3 separate regions of the Homo sapiens genome follow, and all the other regions are linked to region 3. Evidence: promoter capture Hi-C in 16 types of primary human blood cells and fetal thymus (Javierre and others, 2016). All regions are on one chromosome and are shown on one strand. The core of a region is centred on a gene start or on the middle of the fragment in contact, and the rest is flanking DNA. Distances in the headings are between cores, read along the strand shown. Region 1 has its middle 40 kb from the start of CHP2. Region 2 has its middle 15 kb from the start of CHP2. Region 3 holds the start of CACNG3 (calcium voltage-gated channel auxiliary subunit gamma 3).

Region 1 (3,789 bases), core at 1,038-3,537, 460 kb after region 3:
TTCTGGTTTTCTCAGTGAGAACCTGGAGCTAGGTAATGAGTCTAATCAGGAGCTTATGCATGGCTGCAGTCTCTGGGAGCTCATCTGTAACCATTCACCTGGCCTTTCTCTTAGGCTTATCACCTCAAGGTCACAAGATAGCTGCTGCACCTCCAGCCTTCATGCCCTCTCTCTTTTGTCCCCAGCAGGAAAGAAGACAATGAAAATGCAAAAATACTCATAGAAGGCTCCAGAAAGATCTTCTTTTGCATATCATTTGTTAGAACTGGGTCACACGGCCACCCTTAGGTGCAAGGGAGGCTGAGAACATGAGTATCTGGCAAAGGGGAATAGGATAGCAATGGTTGGCCTACACAAGTCATGATCCATTCTTGACAGCTGGGCACATTACAATTCCCGAAGAAAAAAGTCAGCCAGGCATGGTGGCTCATGCCTGTAATCCCAGCACTTAGGGAAGCCAAGGGGGGAGGATCATTTGAGCTCAGGAGTTTGAGACCAGCCTGGGCAATATAATGAGACCCTGTCTCTACAGAGAAAAAAATACAAAAATTAGTCAGGAGTGATGGCACTCGCCTGTAGTCCCAGCTACTCTGGAGGCTGAGGTGGGAGGATTACCTGAGCCCAGGAGGAGGAGGCTGCAGTGAGCTGTGATCATGCCACTGCACTACAATCTGGGTAACAAGAGTGAGACCCTCGCTCAAAAAAAAAAAAAAGGCTCTGAGAGGCAGAGAGAAGAGAGGCCAGTTAAGAACCTCGGGACTCAAGGAATGACATATTGTTGAGTTCTCTGGGTTTTCTTTTTGCCTGATATAGCCTAGACTTGGAGCTGGAGAAGCCAGCAACCCAGAAATGCCAAGAGGTGCAGATAAATATGCTCTTCCAAAAGTGTTCTCTGTAGCTAAGGGAGCAGGCAGAGGCAGCCTAGCAAGACAGAAAACTTTTAAATGATAATAACTCTTCTCCAGGAAATGCCACAGGGGAGGAAAAAAAAAAAAAAACTGAATGCACCCACAGCCATGCAGCAAAGCTGAGTGAATAGTCTAGAATTCCACACTCCCTAGGCTGTAATGAGATGTCTAGAAGTGGTGTCAGAGAAGGGCAGGTAGGGAACTGGGCCTTTTATCTCCACAAGTCAGTAGCAAGGTCTCCCTCTCTGCTGGGTGGGGTCATAGTAGGTCTAGTGGAAAGTTAGGATTTTTATGGCCTCCCAGCAGTCATGAGAAGAAACCCCCCCATCCCCCAACTTCCTATCCCCCCAACCCTCTATTCTCCTATCTCCCCACCCCACCCCTGGTCCATGATGTCAGTAAAAGCCATGTGGGAAGCAGTATGGAGCCATTCCTGCCCTTTCTAGGAAGGTATCCATGGAGGCCTAGTGGGGAGCAAGAAATCCCCCTCTCGCCCAGAAGTAATGGAGATCCCCCAATTTTGGTATCCATGCATAATTATCTGTTGGGTTCTTCCTGTGCACTACACAAACAAAACCAGTTCACTGAGACTGTGATATTGCAGTAAAGAAATTGCAGTAAAGAAAGGGTTTAATTAATGTGAGGCCGGCCACGTGGGAGAACTGGAGTTATCACTCAAATCATTCTCTCCAAAGGCTCGGAGGTTAGGGTTTTTCAAGGATAGATTGGTGGGTGGGGGATTAGGGAATGGGTCCTGTTGATGGATTGGAAATGCAATCACAGGTGTGCGGAAAATGGCCCTCGTGCACTGAGTCTGCCTCTGGGTGGAGGTCACGGGACTGATTGAATCATGAGTCATGGGTTCAGTGGGAGTCAATCCATTCTTTACTCAGAATGTAAAAGCCTGAAAAACATCTCAAAAGATCAATCTTGGCCAGATGCAGTGGCTCATGCCTGTAATTCCAGCATTTTGGAAGGCTGAGGCAGGCTGATCACTTGAGGCTGGGAGTTCAAGACCTTCCTGACCAACATGGTGAAACCCCATCTCTACTAAAAACAAAAACAAAAACAAAAAATAGCTGGGTGCAGTGGCACATGCCTATTGTCCCAGCTACTTGGGAGGCTGAAGCATGAGAATTGCTTGAGCTTGGGAGGCAGAGGTTGCAGTGAGCCAAGATTGCACCACTGCACTCCAGCCTGGGTGACGCAGTGAGACTCTGTCCCAAAAGAAAAAAAAAAAGATCAACCTTAGATTGATTCTACAAATAGTGTTGTCATCTACAGGAGCAATTAGCAAAGTCTCAAATCTCGTGACCTCTGGTTACATGATACCAGAGCAGTAAAAGGATTATAAAAACTATATCTACATTTTAAAATTTATGCCCCTTCCATAATCCTAATCTTGTGGTCTTTTATTAATCTTACAAAGACAGTTTCAGCCCCTGCACAAGGAAAGGATCCATTTCAAGGTAAGACTATTCCCATCCTTGCTTCAAGGTTAAACTGTAAATTAAACTCCTCCCATGGTTAGCTTGGCCTATGCCCAGGAATGGGCAAAGACATCCAGGCTGTGAGGATGGAGTCAGCCACATTAGACTTCTCTCGCTGTCTCATTGTCATAATCTATGCAAACTGAACATGCAACTACTATATAACCTAGCAATTGCACTCTTGAATATTCATCCCAGAGAAATAAAAATTTATATTCATACAAAAACCTCTACATGAATGTTTATCACAGCTCTACTCTTAATAAGCAACCATTGGAAACAACTTGTGATATTGTAAAATTATATTTGGTTTTGGACCTCATTTCCTGGCATACAACTCTTAAAATCCTTAGAATACTTAGAGTACAGTGGCACGATCTCAGCTCACTGCCACCTCTACCTCCTGGATCAAACGATTCCCGTGCCTCAGCCTTCCAAGTAGCTGAGTTTACAGGCGCCCACCACCACGCCCGGGTAATTTTTGCATTTTTAGTAGAGACAGGGTTTTGCCATGTTGGCCAGGCTGGTCCTGGCCTCAAGTGATCCACCCACCTCACCATCCCAAAGTGCTGGGATTACAGACATGAGCCACCGCACCCGGCCTATGTCTTTAGTTTTAAATACTACAGTGAAAGAGCACGTTTGGGTTGACCCACAGCTCACTACAAAATAATCACAAATGGTTATATGGGAGGCAGACACACAGGTGGTTATTCCCAAGAGAACAGCCAGCCTGGTGGACTGGATAAAAGCCACTATAGGCTGGATATTGTGCCTCATGCCTGTACTCCCAGCACTTCGGGAGGCAGAGGTGGGTGGATTGCTTGAGATCAGGAGTTTGAGACCAGCCTGGGCAACGTGGCCAGACTCCATCCCTTCCAAAAGAAAAAGAAAATTAACCAGGCATGGTAGTGTGCACCTGAAGTCCAAGCTATTTGGGAGGCTGAAGTGCAAGGATCACTTGAGCCTAGGAGGCGGAGGTTACAGTATGCCAAGATCACGCCACTGCAACCAGCTTTGGTGACAGAGTGAGACCCTATCTCAAAAAGAAAAAAAAAAGCCACTGTAAGATCTGTTCTCCCTGAGAAGGGGGACTCTGTCTCCTCCTATAAATATCCAGTAGTGCATCTCGGAAGAAGCAGCTGATGTGTTTCATATGCAAGTCATGTGGGCCTGGCTTTATGAGAATCGCGATATTCACCAGCTGAATGTGCTCATTGCCAAGGTCATAGTAAATGCTGTGGTTAAGGGCACCCCTGTAATGTGGATGCCCCGTATAACCTTGCTGCTGCAAAATCAAAAGGTAGTTCAAGAAGCCTTATCATGTTTTCTGGGCCAGTCACGGTGGCTTATGCCTGTAATCCCAGCACTTTGGGAGGCCTAGGTGGGCA
Region 2 (3,893 bases), core at 208-2,707, 490 kb after region 3:
GGAGCTCTGCAAAGCCACACTGTGACTAAGAGGTGGTCACTGTAGCATATCTGTGCAACCTATGCAAGGTGTAGGGGCCAGAGGGGTGAGTCAATTAGGTGGGGTGAGACAAGTAGGTTGTATCTACACCAGGAGGAGATATAAGGCAGGTGTCTGGATCAGCCACATTGAGGAACTGGGAAGAGGTGAAGAACTGTGTCAAGGTTGACTGGGCCCTGCGTCTGATATGAGAAAGTCTAACTTATATTCAAAATGGGTACCAAGGCAACATAAAACTATGGAAATTCACCACACAACCATTGGATCTCTATCACATGCAGACAAGTCTATATTCAAAATCATATGCAGACTTGCAGGTCCTGTCTCTGGAAATTATAATGTAGAAGATCTATAGTGACGCCCAAGTATCAGTATTTTTGTAAGTTTCCCAGGTAATTTATTTTGATGTTCAAAATAATTACTTTGGGGAACTATTGAGCTGCAAATGGCTCAATAAAGCACTACCAGAAAATTATTATTGAATAATAAGCAGGAACTAATCAGGCAAAGGTTGGGGTGAAAGATAGTCCAACCAAAGAGAAAAGCCAAAGTCAGTGAGAAACAGCAGAGCATAGAAAGGAAGAACCTCAAACAGCTGGCATTCCTAGAACATGAAATGACACGCACGTGGGAGTCAGAGATGAAACTGGAAAGACCGCATACGTCATCTGCATTGCAGAGGACCTGGAAGCTATAAAAATACTTAGATTTGATCAATTGTGCAAAACTGTTTAAGAATTTTTTTTGAGATGGAGTACAATGGTGTGATCTCAGCTCACTGCAACCTCCACCTCCCGGGTTCAAGCGATTCTCCTGCCTCGGCCTCCCGAGTAAATAGGATTACAGGCACCCGCCGCCACGCCCAGATAATTTTTGTATTTTTAGTAGAGACGGAGTTTCACTATGTTGGTCAGGCTGGTCTCAAATTCCTGACCTCAGGTGATCCACACACCTTGGCCTCCCAAAGTACTATTTAAGAATTTAAAGGAGATTAGGAAGGTTGAGGCAGGAGGATTACTTGAGACCAGGGAGTCGAGACCAACCCGAGCAACACAACAAGACCCTATCTCTAAAAAAAAAAAAAAAAAGAAAACTTAACCCCAGTATGATGACACACACCTGTAGTCCCAGATACTCAGGAGGCTGAGGTGGGAAGATTATTTGAGCCCAGGAGGTTGAGGCTGCAGTGAGCTGTATTGTGCCACTGCACTCCAGCCTGGCAGCAAAGTAAGACCCTGTCTCTAAAAAAAAGAGTTTAAAGAAGAGAAGTGACCCAGACTGACTTGTTTTGACTTAAAAATGTAACATCTTAGAACATAACCCCTCAAAATACTTTTCTTTATATGTTTATATGCATGTTTGCAAATTAGTTTATGCTATTTATATTGTTTTCTTAATGATAATATTCATCTATGACATCGTTTTAAATGGCTGAATACCATTTCATTTTATGAATATATCATTTTATTTTAACCAATCCTATTGTGGTAGGTTTATTTAATTTTATTTAACTTAGCAAAACTGGAACTATATTTCCAAGAAATCCCTTCTCTATGGTCTATGTTATTGTTGGCCATGAGAAAAACATATGCAAGATTTGACAGACTGGCCGGATGCAGTGGCTCACGCCTGTAATCCCAACACTTTGGAAGGCTGAGGCTGGAGAATCGCTTGAGCCCAGGAGTTCGAGACCAGCCTGGGCAACATAACGAGATCCCCCATCTCTACAAAAAAAATAAGAAAATAAATATAAATAAATAAATAAGCCAGGCATGGTGACATGGGCCTGTGGTCCCTGTTACTCGGGAGGCTGAGGCAGGAGGATAACCTGAGTCTAGAGGTTTGAGGCTGCTGTGAGCTATGATTACACCACTTAACTCCAGCCTGAGTGACAGAGTGAGATTCTGTCGCTTAAAAAAAAAAAAAGATTTGGCAGACAGGACTGAAGGTGCAGCAATTGCTATGCTCTGAGCACAGGTGCATGGCATTCTTGCCACTTACACAATTTGCAGCTAGCCTGATGCTTCACCTGTGGGTGTGAGGCATCAGCCAGGCCTGTGGTACCTCCAGCTCCTCCAGGTCTCCTTCAGCTTCTCCAAACCCTACACCAGGTGCCTGTCATGGGCACTGGCTCCTCCTGCCAGTCACTCACATCATCAAGATTGGAGGTGGCAACAGACTCAGGTTCCACGTTGTCCTTGTAGGTTCCTGTTGGTCTTTGCATCCCCTACTTCATGTACATTTTTTCCTGTCCAGCTGCTGGCCCTGATGACTTCAGATGCAACATCAGATTCAGAAGAGCCACCGCCCACATTGACTGATAACTTGCCCCCACAGTTGCATGAGGACTAATCCCCACATGTAATAAGTCTCTCATTGCATGTCAGCCATGGTGGTTCTGCTCCTCTGATCAAACTCCAATTGAATGCTAATGCAATGTGTTAGTTGGGTTCTCTGCGGTAGTATCAGGTTTATTTGGGAGTAACATCCATGAAAGATAAAATGGTGAAGAAGGAGGATTGGCCAGGGAGAATATCAGATCGAGATGCAGATCTGGAAAATGTTCATCCAACCCAGTGGGGAGTTCTGGAGCAAAGATTTCCCACCAAAGGAATCCCACAGTGAGCTATAATCACTAGTCCCAGTACCTTGCTCAGTCCTTCGCTGGGGCTGCCTGAGAACAGCACAACCTCAGCTTAACAGGTGAGGCAGAGGCCAGGTTCAGTGGCTCACACCTGCAATCCCAGCACTTTGGGAGTCCGAGGTGGGAAGGTCACTTGAGCCCAGGAGTTCAACACCAGCCAGGGCAACATAGTGAGACGTCATCTCTACTAAAAATAAAAAAGTAAATTATCTGAGTGTAGTGGTGCACACCTGTAGTCCCAGCTACTCAGGAGGCTGAGGTGGGAGGATCACTTGAGCCCAGAAGGTCAAAGCTGCATTGAGCCTGGGTGACAGAGCAAGGCCCATGCCTCAAAAATAGAAAAATAAAAATAGCTGGAATCTGTCAGCTCCCAGCATTCCTCACAGCCGAAGGGCAAGTTCCTTCTTGAAGGGAGACCAGAACAGCACACCCTAGAGCTGCCCCACCCATATTGGCGCACAGTTGGATGACTCTGATGATCCACTTTGTTTGTTATAAACAAGACCTAAGTGAACAATCTGGTAGGTCATATCTTTTTGCACATCCTTAATTATTTGCTTAGGATACATGCCTAGAAATGAGGATCTGGGACAAATAATCTCCCCATTTTTAGGGCTTTTGATATATAAAACTAGACTGGGCCTCAGAAGAGTTGTGATTTTAATCAAATTTTAATCAACATTGAGGTTGAATGTTTTCATATGCATTTAGACATTTATATTTCTTTCTTTCTTTTTTTTTTTTTTTGACATAGAGTCTCGCTCTGTTGTCCAGGCTGGAGTGCAGTGGCACGATCTCGGCTCACTGCAACCTCTGTCTCCTGGGTTCAAGCAATTCTCCTGCCTCAGCTTCCCAAGTAGCTGGGATTACAGGTGCCCATCACCATGCCCAGCTAATTTTTGTATTTTTCAGTAGAGACAGGGTTTTTCCATGTTGGCCAGGCTGGTCTTGAACTCCTGACCTCAGGTGATCCACCTGCCTTGGTCTCCCAAAGTGCTGGGATTACAGGCTTGAGCCACCACACCCAGCCTAGATATTTATATTTCTAAAAAAAAAAAAAGAAAAAAACCTTCTTGTTCATATTGTTGGATATAGGATGGTCATATTCTTCCAATTGAAAGAGCTACTTATATGTAAAAGATTGCAACCTGTTGTCTGATATGCATGATGCAAATAATTCTCCAGTTTGTCTTTTACCTTTAATTTTTTA
Region 3 (3,891 bases), core at 83-2,582:
AATACCAAGACTTCAGTTTTGTTGTGATCCAAACTAATAAAACATGTATCAATAAGGATTTTTTCTTAAAATGTGTGCATAGGGTGTGGGTGGGAGTAGGGGTTTACATATGTTACCCTGTTACTGATTGGCAGTGGAAGTTCATGACAATATCTAGTTAGAGCAAACTCAGGAGAAACTGATAAGTCTATGTTGAGAAATAATGAAATAGCTCAGAATGTGCCAGACCGGGTCAGGATCTCTCTCTCTCTCTCTCTCTCTCTCTCTCTCTCTCTCTCTCTCTCTCTCTCTCTCTCTCCCCCCTCACTTCTTTCCTCTTGTCCCTTCTCCTCCCTTCCCTCCCCCTCCCTTCGAAATCCAATTTAAGCAGGGTTAAAGACCCCATCTCAAGCCAGAGATCCAAGCAGTTGACAATATGCCTAGGGATTTTGGATTTGAAGACTTTTCTAAACTGCAGAAGCTGCCTAGAGTGTGACAAAAATCTCATCTCATGAAGCTTATACTAAAAACAATCAACAAGACCCAACCCCTTTAACCCACATGGCGTCAGTCTTGCTGTTAACAGAGTCTGGGCACCTGCACATTCTCAGCAATAATTTGAACTTCTCTTCTTTCCTTATCACCATTTCCATCTCCTCCAAACACCCACCAGAATATCAGAACTGGATTATTCAGAGCTATTGAGAGGAAATTGTAAATACCTTCTAGGCAGCAGGTCCTCCACAGCCCCGAATGGGTCATTACTTCTTCATTCTTCCTGCTGGTTTCATTATCACTTGTAGATTTAGTCCTGCACACACCTCTGGAATATAACCAGTAGTCCGTGCCCACTGCAATGGTCATTAAACTAAAAGCGGCAAAGGCTCCTACAGTGGTGATCAACATCTGGATACCTCTGTCACACATCCTCATAATTCTTCATGGTACTCTGGACGGCTGGGGGTTGGAGGGGGAGAGTCAGTGCCGGAGGGGAAAATCACTCTGCAGCCGGGTAACCTAGTACAGGCTCTTCCAAAAATTCAGGTCTCCTTTTGTCAGCATCCACAGGGACTTTGGGAAAGCTGGGATTTCCTTTCTGGAGCTCTCTCCAGTTCCCTGGGTCGCCTATGGCCCTCGGAAGGGTGCAGGCTCCGGGGGGTTGGTCCGCATCACTGCTGCCTTCTGAGGGTCCCTGGGTTCCTTTCATTCCTCAGGAGCGTGGTAAAGACGAGGGTCCGTGCAGGGCATGGCTCCGGAGCCTGGAGCTGCCAGCTCGGTTTGAGATGCGCCTGGCTTCTCACAGCCCCGGGAGACTCAAGGCAAAGAAACCCAGAGAGGTCTCTGTGTGAGTGTGTGTGTGTGTGTGTGTGCGTGCGTGCGTGTGTGTGCGAGCGCGTGTGCTGGGGGTGAGGGCGGATGGCAAAAAATAGCACTGCTGGGAGGCGAGCCGCTGAGAAGAGTGTTCACTGCTTCCACAGCCTCGCAGGAAAGCTCTCCGCCTGCTCCCGACACCCCCGCTCAAACTGGAGAAAAGACAGAGTCCTGGGGCGGGGGCCGGCTGGTTTCCCTGGGGGCGCCAAGGTCCGTGGTGCTGAAGGGACAGCTCCCCGCCTGTTGCCCCGCCTCCGTCGTCTTAACGCCTAGGCTTTAAGGTCCGTGGTGCCGAAGGGACAGCTCCCTCATGCAGCTGCACACCGCCGCCCGGGCTAGAAACCCGGGGTGCTAAAGGGTCTTTCTTCCCTCACCCCGCCCTTCCCCCGTTCCTTCCCGGGTCAGCCAGCCGGCTCGGCTCTGCCCAGTCAAGCCCACTCTCCGCGCAAAGTTTCTGGAGCCGAGGACAGTCAGCGCCCTGGCTCCTGGGCGCTGCAGCACGACCCGGTTCCTCCGCTCTAGGAAGGGTTAAGGAAAGGGGAAGGGGAGCGAAGCCCGTAGCGCACTCTGGCGCTCCCTCAGCACCCACCCAACGCGGCATTCTTCAATCCTCCCTTTCACCCCATGAGCCAGGCAAGTTTGCCTTTTGCTGCGGGCACCACTGGAGCCCATTGGGGAAAAAGAAGACCCGAAAGACCGAGTCTTCTTAAAGGCACCGGCAGCTCTGGAGACGGCTCTATGGCTCGCTTAGGCGGGCAAAAAGTGTTGTCACAATCACATCTGTGTAGAGTCTGTCTCAATTTGGTTCCCCAGCAAACAAACCAATATGTCTACCCTCCTTTCTCTGGAGCTCTGGTTTACACCGAAGACAACCCGCTCAGATCAGACCCGGAACTGTTCATATATACATGATCATGTATTCCTAAAAGATGGAAGAAGCTAAATATACATAGACTCTGTCATACACATATTAGGGACCTTGGGCAAAAGACTATAAGATTTTGGCCTTTGAATATGCCTTTTATACATTTTAACATATCTACATCGAAGGGGGTGATGGATTCATGGTGGGAGAGTCACTGAAAATGTCAGATTTTGTTCAAAGGTCTCTGAGATATCATTTGTTAACATTGTTATCTAAGTGAGACCATGAAGCAGGTGAAGTTAGGTCTGCTTTGCTTGTTAGTCCAAAGGGCAAATGGCATTGCACACCTGAAAGCTCTCTTCCTTGGAAATAGCCAGTATTGCAAAGGACCAGCATTTAACCAGCTTTTTATTACTATGTATTCCGGCATATGCATGGGCACACACCGAGTTGACTAGAAACAGCCCACAGAAATGCCCTTATTATTTTTTTTCTTATGGCATCCTGGGACTGATATCCAGAGGTCAGATAGTTGGAAATGAGGTTGCTTGGGTTGTTTCCACAGTTCCTGAGATGTGTCCGCAACCAACTGTCATGTTTGAATGTTATTTAGCTGGACAGAAATATAACGGGAGGTAATCGCAGACAAACATACTCCCCTGGTGCCATCTCTGGCTGCCTGGGAACTTCTATTCAGGTGACTGGGTAGCAGGAATATATTGAAGGGTTCGCAAATGCAGCTCACAACTTCTTGGTGACTTTGCTACTTTCATTTTGGTGTTAAGACTGAAGACTTTATTCTTGGTGTTAGATAAATACTCATGTGCAGGAGGAAGTTTGAATATATAGCTGTGGAGTGATTGTGTTTGAATGCTCACCTGTGCTATGTTCAGTTTAGTTATAAATTCTGAATGCCTGTGAATCCGTCATAGAAGTAAAGCAAGTATGTAAATGTATGTTTGTACCTGCAGACAGTGTTATGGACCATGTGAACATATTTGCTGCAAATGCCTAGCATTTTTGCTATGCATATGCATACATATTTGCACATGTATGTGTATGCATGCACGTGTGTAGGTATAGTATAGATTTGAATATGTAGGTGTGTATACCTATGAGCATTTAGTTGCATATGCATGTGTCGTGGTTCAAAAACACTGATTTATGGACAGGAGGTAGAAATACTGAAATCTTGCCACATAATCCACAATGGAATGGATAAACTTGGGGCCAGCACCACAGCCGTACTCCAGAAGAATGACAGAAGATAGTAGGGAGAGGATACACGAGGGCCCCTACAAGTTTCTTAGTGTCATTTTCTTTCCTGAAATGAAAATTTGCATCTTAATAAAAATATCCTGCCTTGATTGTTATTACCTTTCTTTTTTAAGGGAAAGCCATATGTAACATGGAGGTGAGGTTGGTATTTCTTGGGAGGGATTAATTCAGTTAGCAAAAATTTCTCTCCCCACTCTCAGAAAGGTAAATAAGATGAAATAATTACTAATGATCAAAGCAGTCATTTCAGGATCTGTTTGATTCTTCTCTTGCTTGGATAGAAGTGAGAAAGGTCTTCTTTCAAAGAAGGACCATGTTGATGAAAGGTGAGTGAGCTTCGGGCTAAGGGACAGTATGCCCCAATCTCTCCATTTACCAGACCCACAGTGGAACAGCAG

Evidence for each region. Contacts are between HindIII fragments. The CHiCAGO score rates a contact against its expected background, and 5 or more counts as called.
Region 1: a fragment that was not itself captured here is called in contact with the fragment with the promoter of CACNG3 in region 3 in 7 of 17 cell types (naive CD8 T cells, total CD8 T cells, total CD4 T cells and 4 more); the score reaches 7.7 in naive CD8 T cells.
Region 2: a contact is called between a fragment that was not itself captured here and the fragment with the promoter of CACNG3 in region 3, in 4 of 17 cell types (total CD8 T cells, naive CD8 T cells, naive B cells and 1 more). The highest score is 7.6, in total CD8 T cells.

The regions. Positions count from the first base shown.
Region 1 is chr16:23,793,518-23,797,306 of GRCh38, reverse strand. No RefSeq gene overlaps it. Among named protein-coding and RNA genes, the nearest start is that of CHP2, 40 kb to the right of the region's middle. The HindIII fragment of the contact is 8,748 bases long and covers 1-3,789 here.
Region 2 is chr16:23,768,006-23,771,898 of GRCh38, reverse strand. No RefSeq gene overlaps it. Among named protein-coding and RNA genes, the nearest start is that of CHP2, 15 kb to the right of the region's middle. The HindIII fragment of the contact is 4,988 bases long and covers 1-3,893 here.
Region 3 is chr16:24,253,776-24,257,666 of GRCh38, reverse strand. CACNG3 (calcium voltage-gated channel auxiliary subunit gamma 3) reads right to left here and starts at 1,332. Exons shown (of 4, transcript NM_006539.4): 1 at 702-1,332. The coding sequence starts at 912. RefSeq lists an enhancer at 857-1,584. The HindIII fragment of the contact is 7,529 bases long and covers 499-3,891 here.